2 separate regions of the Homo sapiens genome follow, and region 1 is linked to region 2. The links are contacts of gene promoters, found by promoter capture Hi-C in blood cells and fetal thymus (Javierre and others, 2016). All regions are on one chromosome and are shown on one strand. The core of a region is centred on a gene start or on the middle of the fragment in contact, and the rest is flanking DNA. Distances in the headings are between cores, read along the strand shown. Region 1 overlaps DYSF (dysferlin). Region 2 holds the start of CYP26B1 (cytochrome P450 family 26 subfamily B member 1).

Region 1 (3,806 bases), core at 1-2,500, 620 kb before region 2:
AGCTGCCTCTCAGCTCCATTCCAATGTCCTCTGGGCCTGGTCTGGCAATATTTGGCCACTCTGTGGACCCATTTTCTTAGTTCTCATTGAGAAGTCAGCACCATCTGGACTCTATTCTGGCCTTAGGGCTGGCTCTCACTGATTTTCCCTCCCTCTGTGAGGAAGCCCGTCCTGCTAGTGGCAGAGCTGGGCTGGGGAGCAGTTGCTCTAATGTTGGAAGGGTTTGCATGAAGGACTCCTGGGCCCCACTGTCTTCACAGATGAAGGACACAGATCCACAAGGTGACCCACCATCCTAGCTTGCCTGAGACTGTCCTGGTTTTAGCACTGAAAGTGCCTGTTCCAGGAAACCCTGCAGTCTCCAGCAAACTGGGACAGTGGGCACCCGACTTGCAACCATCTCTTCCTCCCAGGAAGGCCAATGTGGCCACTGCCTGGTTTCTCACAGTGGTTGGCCCGATACTAGACCCATCTGTGTGTTTAGTAAATGCTGGGGAGTTATACCGAATATTCTAGAGCTCTGGTTATCAACCTGGGCTGATAGTAGAATTCCCTGGGAAGATTCAAAACGGTCCAAATGCCGGGGCCCCACCTCCAGCGTTTTAGATTGACTCGAGTTAGGGCAGGGCTCAGCATTGGTAGGGTTTAAAGGCTCCCCAGGTTGTTCTGTGGTGAGGCCCCGCTGTGAGCCACTATTTTAAAGCATGCATTAACACAACCAAGCCACTGTCCACAGCAGAGTCAGTGAGAAGGTTTGCAACTTGGGTCCCTGGTTACAACTTTTCCATAAAGGTAACTATTTGAGAGTTTCTGCTTCGGCTGCTGACGTCAAGAAATGAAATGTACAAGCTTACTTAGATCAAATCCTGAAGAAAGCCTGTAAATAAGTAATGGGTATTAATTCAGTACTAAAACACATGCTTAAAAATATTCTGCACTTATTGATTGCAACTAGAAGTGAGGCTGGTGAACTTCAAGAGGGGCATGGGGAAATAGAAATGTTTGCTTTTCTTAAGGTGAAAGAGCTTTGTGTTGAATTCCCTGCAACGTTGTTTGAAAAAAACAAAATAGATGGGCAAACAGATCATAAATGTTTGCTAATTGTTGTTGCCTTTTGTATTCATGTAGTTATTAGCTAGCGTATAATCTTTATCCCCCTCCACTTACTTACCCACTCATATGTCTGTAAACATAACATGCTTTATACACATATGTATGTGTATACACATAAACATATCTATCTATCTGTATCTACATATATAAATAATCTGGCTGATTCAAAAAATAATGGTTTGGGGCAGCATAGATTAAAAACTCTTAAAAAAAAAACAACAGAATTGACTTCTTGGTTAACCTCAGGTAAATCGCTGCGCTAATAGATTTAAAGGAAAATGTCAACCAGGCACCAATAATGGGATATTGTTATAACAACTGCCAGTCCTTTTCTGAGTACTTACTGCCCTTAGTGATGTAGATTTCTAATTAGTCAGGCAGGTAGATTTGATCTGAAAGGCTTTGAATGCAGGGTGGGGACAGTGAACTGAGCTGTTTGGGACTGGTGACAAAGTGGCCCGGAGCTCTCAGGAGTTGCTGCTCTGAGACAGTCCTCCTTCTGGGGAGCCCCTGGGCTGAGTCCCTGTGTGAAGGGGCCAAAGCTTCTTGCTCAGGTAGTCCCAGGACTGCCTGGAGACAGATGGGGGACAGTCAGGGTTTTAGAGGAGAGACAGCAGGCAGGCAGTGACTGGTGTGTCCCTCTTCCCAGTGGACGATGCCGTGATGGACAACGTGAAACAGATCTTTGGCTTCGAGAGTAACAAGAAGAACTTGGTGGACCCCTTTGTGGAGGTCAGCTTTGCGGGGAAAATGGTAAGGAGCAAGGGAGCAGGAGGGTTCTCTCGGGAGGGGACTTTCTGGTGCCCTGTGGACTGTGCCGGGTGAGAGCAAGACAGAGTGAGATGCCCCCACCAGAGGTGTGTGCACAAGGAGTGGCTGATCCTGGTGCGTGGTGAGACACCCACATAGGCCCAGCTCTCAGGGACTGCCCCGCACACGAATGTGGACAGGTCTGCCTGGGGGTGTCCCAGACAGACACATAGATGTGGATGGCCCAGGAGAGGACGTTGGATGGTGGATAGTAGAGGAACATTTGGGGGAAAATGGAGCAATAGCATGGAAACCAGACATGAAGGCATAAAGATAGAGAAACTATATTTTAAAGATGTGGGAGAAAAACATAATGGTTATTTAAAAAATGTTGTGGGGGTAGTTGGGCAGAGAAAGGCCCCTCTGGTGGGCACCCTAGCCTCTTCCTTGCAGCCCACCTTCCTGCCCTGAGGCGGGACTGTGGCTCCAGTCCCTGCTGACTTCTGTCCCAGCCCTTCTCTCCACACAGGCTGCCCACCCCCCAGTGTCTGTGCACCCCCCACAGGCTTTCCTGGCAGCCCCAGCCCTCCCAGGCTTCAGCCATCACCTCTCTGCAGAGAACTCCGTAGCTCTCCGAACCCTCCCTTCAACCCCAGGCCTCTCTGTGCCTCTAAACAGTTCCGCCTGCTGCCCCTCTGAGCCCTGGAGGGAGTCATTTTCTCTGCACAAACTGCCCCATATCCAAAAGCCTCTGTCTTAACCAGGTACAACCATCAAAGGCAGAAAATGTGGACCTGCCTTGATTCTTCCTTCTTTTTTCTCTCTCCACATCCCACATGCTATCTCTAGCTTTTGACTTTAAACTTGTCCCCAGGGCCCATCCCTACCTCGTGCCCCCACAGCCACTGCTAGCTCTTTCCAGGAGCATTCCCTTGTCTCTCAACTCATGGCATTGAATTTTTGAACAGCCCAGGCCATTTGTCCAAGTACTGGATTTGTTCGATTGTTTCCTTCTGTTGTTTAACTTGTTTCTCTGACTCCTCTCTTTCCTGTAAACTGGAAGTTAGGTCTAGAGACTCCATTAGATTCAGATGAAGTATTTCGGCAAGAACTCAGAGTAGTTGATGTTCTGCATGTCATATGGCATCACAACAGAGAGCCATAATGTCAGGTTGTCCCATCATTAGGGATGATCGCCTGATCACACAGTTAAAATGGTGCCTCCAGACAGCTCCCTTATAAATCTTCCCACTTTGTAATTAGCAAGTAAACTGTGGGTGATATCTTGGCACTGTACGGATGTCCTACTTCTCAGCTACCTCTTATCTAATGGTCTAAGCATCCATTGACCTTCCTGTCTGAAGAAGTCATTTAGTTGGGACTGCAAAGTGGTGATTTTCTCATTATCATTCTTTTTCTCTTGATTAGCCAACATTTTTTTCTGTAAAGAAGAGCTTTCTCCCTCCGCTTCGTTGAGTATTAGTATGGACCTCAATACTTTTTATTTCTAATGTTAAATCAGTCATTATTGTGTTGATGTATGAATTATACTGAAGGTGGCCATCAGGAGCCCCTTTGAGCTGGGCTCTCTCTCCTCAGAGACTAGCACAGGGTCCCAGTGAAAATGTACACGGGGATGTAATGCAGATTTTAAACTCGTTCATGTGGAGGTGTAAATGCTTACTGCAGATCCTCACCTGAGTGCAGGTTTTGGTGTAGACTCAGGGTCCAGGTCTTACGCCCTGCGCCTGGCATCAGGAGGAATGGGGACAGCTGCTTGAAGGTAGGAAGGAAACAGGAAGCTGCGGCTGTACGTTTTTGTGGGACACTAGCTCCAAGGACTAGGATTAATTCTTCCACTTGACACTTGGGGGAATTCACGTCCTGAGATTGTTCTTATTTCGCATTCCCAACATGGAAGGTATTTCGATGGTGGCTAGAAC
Region 2 (3,876 bases), core at 531-3,030:
TCCTCCCTAACTTCTGTGCAGGTTGGACGCTGACCCCCAGGGGCTCTTGTGGGATTCGGAGAAAAGGTCATGGGGACCTGAGGGGGGGCAGAGAGGTCAGGAAACGAAGTGGGGGTGGGTGGTGACAGACCGTGGATTCAGCAGACTGGCTCTAAAAGGCGGGAGCCGTTGCCCAAGTTATTTTATTTCCTAAATTCGCGGCCCAAAGCCTAGAGCACCGCTGCAGTTGACACTTTAAGTGTGGTGGCGAGGGAAAGGCTCTGGGGATTTCTTTGCGGGGGGTGGGGGGGTGATACATCCATTGGTTGAAAGGACCCCCACCTCATTGCACGAACAACCCCAAAAAGAGATGGGCCTAATCCGGGACGTGGAAAGACCACAGGGCAGAGGAACTTCGAACCCCCTCCCCGCCCCCGCTCCGCTGTCACTCGTCCCGGGGCAGGGTGAGTGCGTGTGTGCGCGAGCGCGCGGATTGCACGCGTCTGTTAATTTCAAGCCAAGCTTTCGCACCTGTAAACCCACAGGTCGCAGCGCTCACCTTTCGCTTCACCTCTCTAGTGCGGGGATTGTCAGTTTCAGGACATCCCTGCTTCCCCTAACAGAACAAACGCGCGTACACACAAATACACCTCCCGCAGTTACTGCAGAGGCGCTCCGCTCCCCCACCCCAAGAAGAAAACCGGTGTGTATCACATTGCAAAAGCGATTGTCTGGCACTTGATGAGGTGAACTCCAGGTTAATCTCCCCATTACCTACCTGGGTCTGGTCCCTGACGCGCCTCACCCCCGTTATCACCAGCAGAGTGGGGTTGTGCGGCATCTAACAAGCACACACGCACTCTCTCTCTATGGATCCCACACTCACCTCTCCCAAGTTTCCCTCTCCTGCCAAACTGTCCCCACCCAATAAGTAAATAGACCCTTTTCCCCGAAAGCCTAGAGCCCTGGATTCTCATTTTTCCTTGGGTTACCTTCTTCCTCTTCCACCACAAAACAGACACACTCGCGCGGACCGCGGACCAGGGACACTGTACCTGGCGCTGCCGACGGCGCCGCAGGAACACAGTTTTAAATCGGCAATTCAAGCTGCCACCAGCCCCCTCCTCTCCCGACTCAATTTTCGGCTCCCAGCGACACAGCCAACCCCAGAAAGCCGAGGGCGACTGGGGGCTTGCAGCACCGAGGGGAGGCGAAAGCGGCTCAGGACCGGACCCTCCCCCGGGACCGCGCCTCGCTAGGCGCCCCCGGGGCGCTCCACGCCCCCTGCCAGGCCAGCCGCGACCCAGGCAAGTCCATCTTGGGAGCCCCCTCAGGTCCGGGAACCCCTCTTACCAGCCCCCTGAACCTGCGCCGCGGGCGCCAGTGGTCCCGGAACCGCGCTGCCGGCGGGCTGGGGAAGCCCGGGCTGCTGCGGCAGAGAGGAGGGAAGGGGCGGGGCGGGGACCAGTGCCTTCAGGCTCCCGGCGCCCCCTGGCCGGCCCGCCGCTCCGTCTGCCCCGCGCTCGCAGCTAGCGGACCCCGGAGTGCAGCGGAGCGAGCGCGCCCTTACCTGCAGCAGCCAGTGGCCGGTCTCTCCGATGAGCGGGAAGCCCATGGATCCCTTGGGGATGGGCAGCTTGCAGCTCTTGTCGCGAGTGGCGGCCCAGCGCAGCTGCCACAGCTGCTGCGACACGGCCAGCAGCAGCGTCACGGACACCAGGCACGCGGCGAGGGTGGCCAGCGCCGACACCAGATCCAAGCCCTCAAAGAGCATGTTGGCGGCCGCTCGGGGGATTGGCTGTGCCGGCCGCGGCGGGGGAGGGGAGGGCCCGACGGGAGGGGACCGGAGCGGCGGGGGAGGGGAGGCTGCGGCCGGGGGTCCTGGCACCTCCAGCCGAAACAGAGAAGGAGGAAGGGGCCAAGGGAAAGGGAGTGGAGGCTGCGAGGGGAGCGGAGAGAGGGAGGAAAAAAATTGCCTAAAAGAAGAGAGGAAACACGAGGCGACTGGGGTGCAACTTTGTTTGTTTGTTTGTTTGTTTGTTCCTTTATAGCGGGCTTAGGGGCTGCTCAAGGGGTGGTGAGATGAAGCCGTGAGTCAAGCTGGTGGGTTTGCTCTCCCCGCTACCATCACACTCGGAAAACTTTGGAAAACTTTGTCCAGAGGGAGCCTCTCTCTCGTAAGCCCCTTCCCCTGCTCGGAAAAAAAGAAGGGGGCAGAGAGCTAGCAGAGAGAAAGTGCGGTCGATTTGTCAAAAGTATTGCAGTATGGCCCCAAAATTCCTAGGTGAAAAAAAGAAAAAAAGAAAAAATTCCTGAATCCAAAAATTCCAACGAACCCAGAAACTTTGGGGGCGAGGGAGAAAGCTCCCTGGCTGAGGCGAGTGGAGAGGCCGGAGCCTAAAAGTCCCTGGGCTGCCCGGGGCGGCGCGCTCGAGCCCCAGAGCCGCCGCAGCACCCCCGAGGCAGGAGCGGCGGGCGAGGCGGCGAGGCGGGCGCTGCGGCCCGAGCGCGGGTGCGGAGCCGGCGGGCCGCGGCCGGGACGGGACGCAGCCGGCGACAGAGCCCCGGGCGGGCGATGGGGCGGCGGCGGCGGCGGCGGCGGCGGCGGCGGCGGCAGCGGGCGGGAGGGGTGAGGCGGGGTGGGGTTGGGGGAGGAGGTGGAAAACCCGAGCTGGGCTATTGTATCAATTAAGAAAAGGCAGTCCGTCCCGGGACGCGGTCTCTCGGCTCTGGAGTTGCTGCTGGGGGAAGAAATGGGGAAAAAAGAAAGGAAGGCAAAAGGAATGAAAGAGGGGGAAAAGCAGGAGGCAGGATTTCAGGGCTGGTGGTTTTAAAAGCTTCTCTCAATGTGAATTTGAGTCCAAAGCGAGGCGATGCGTGTGTTTATATAGAGGCGGGAGGCTGCGCCGTGGGCGCCCCGCCAGCACCCCCCCGCCCCAACCCGCGCGCTCACAAAGCCGGAGGCGTGGTGAGAGGCCGGGCCCGCGGCCGGAGCTGGAGAGCGCAGCCCGGCCTCCCGCCCCGCCCCGGCCGCCCGCCGCCCGCCGCCCGCAGCCCGCCCGGGACCCACTTGTAGCCGCCGCAGGATCAAACTCAGTTCACCTCTCGCCTCCTCTTCTTTCTCGCCGGCGTCTCGCTGAGCCCAGCGCCTACAGACGGACGAGATGAGACACACGCGCGCGCACCTACGCGCACACACACACAACACACACGCGCACACACACAACACACACACCTCCGCACACACGGTGCGCACTCGCTTAGTGCCTGCTTGGCTTCTAGGCTCCTTCCCTTCCTCTTTTCCTCCTTCCCAGGTCAGCGGTCCCCTCCTCCAGCTCCGAGCAGTCCCTCCTGGGCCGAAGCCCCGGCAGCGGAGGTCCTGGCCGGACTGCCCCCTCGACTGGCAGGCGCCCAAAGCCCTCGAAACTGTGCCTTAGGGTCCCGAGCTTCCAACCCCCGGGATCCCGCTGGCTCTTATCTCCAGGGACCCCTGAGTTACCAGTCCCAATCCCCCTAAGCCAGATCCCCCATTCCCGATCCCTATATCCTCACACCTCCGATGCTAAGGTCCGCCCCCGCCATATGTCTCTTACCCTACGGAACCTGGAGGTTCTCCTGTCCCCGTCAGCGTCCCAGGCTGCTGACTCTGCAGCCCCTCCTTTCCTGCACATTGGGACCCCCCTCCCCTGCTTTTGTAGTCCCCCTCCACCGCCCGCAGCGTCGGGGAACCCCGATACTGGTCCGGCAAGTGTCCTGCGCGGGGACAAACGCGGCGGCCCCGGTACCCAGAGGCGGGAGAAGACGGGCACAAACGTTCATTGATACAAATGAGTAAATAAACATGCTGGGTGAGCACGGCCACCTTCTCAGCGCTGGCAGCAGAGGGCCCGGCGCGCG

What was found. The method cuts DNA at HindIII sites, captures the fragments that hold promoters and counts their contacts. A CHiCAGO score of 5 or more calls a contact.
Region 1: a fragment that was not itself captured here is called in contact with the fragment with the promoter of CYP26B1 in region 2 in 5 of 17 cell types (M0 macrophages, megakaryocytes, M1 macrophages and 2 more); the score reaches 9.3 in M0 macrophages.

Annotation. Positions count from the first base shown.
Region 1 is chr2:71,526,536-71,530,341 of GRCh38, forward strand. It overlaps DYSF (dysferlin), which reads left to right. Exons shown (of 56, transcript NM_001130987.2): 14 at 1,763-1,866. Among named protein-coding and RNA genes, the nearest start is that of DYSF, 62 kb to the left of the region's middle. RefSeq lists an enhancer at 1,219-1,737. The HindIII fragment of the contact is 806 bases long and covers 848-1,653 here.
Region 2 is chr2:72,146,082-72,149,957 of GRCh38, forward strand. CYP26B1 (cytochrome P450 family 26 subfamily B member 1) reads right to left here and starts at 1,781. Exons shown (of 6, transcript NM_019885.4): 1 at 1,550-1,781. The coding sequence starts at 1,753. RefSeq lists enhancers at 457-979, 1,169-1,670. The HindIII fragment of the contact is 2,315 bases long and covers 500-2,814 here.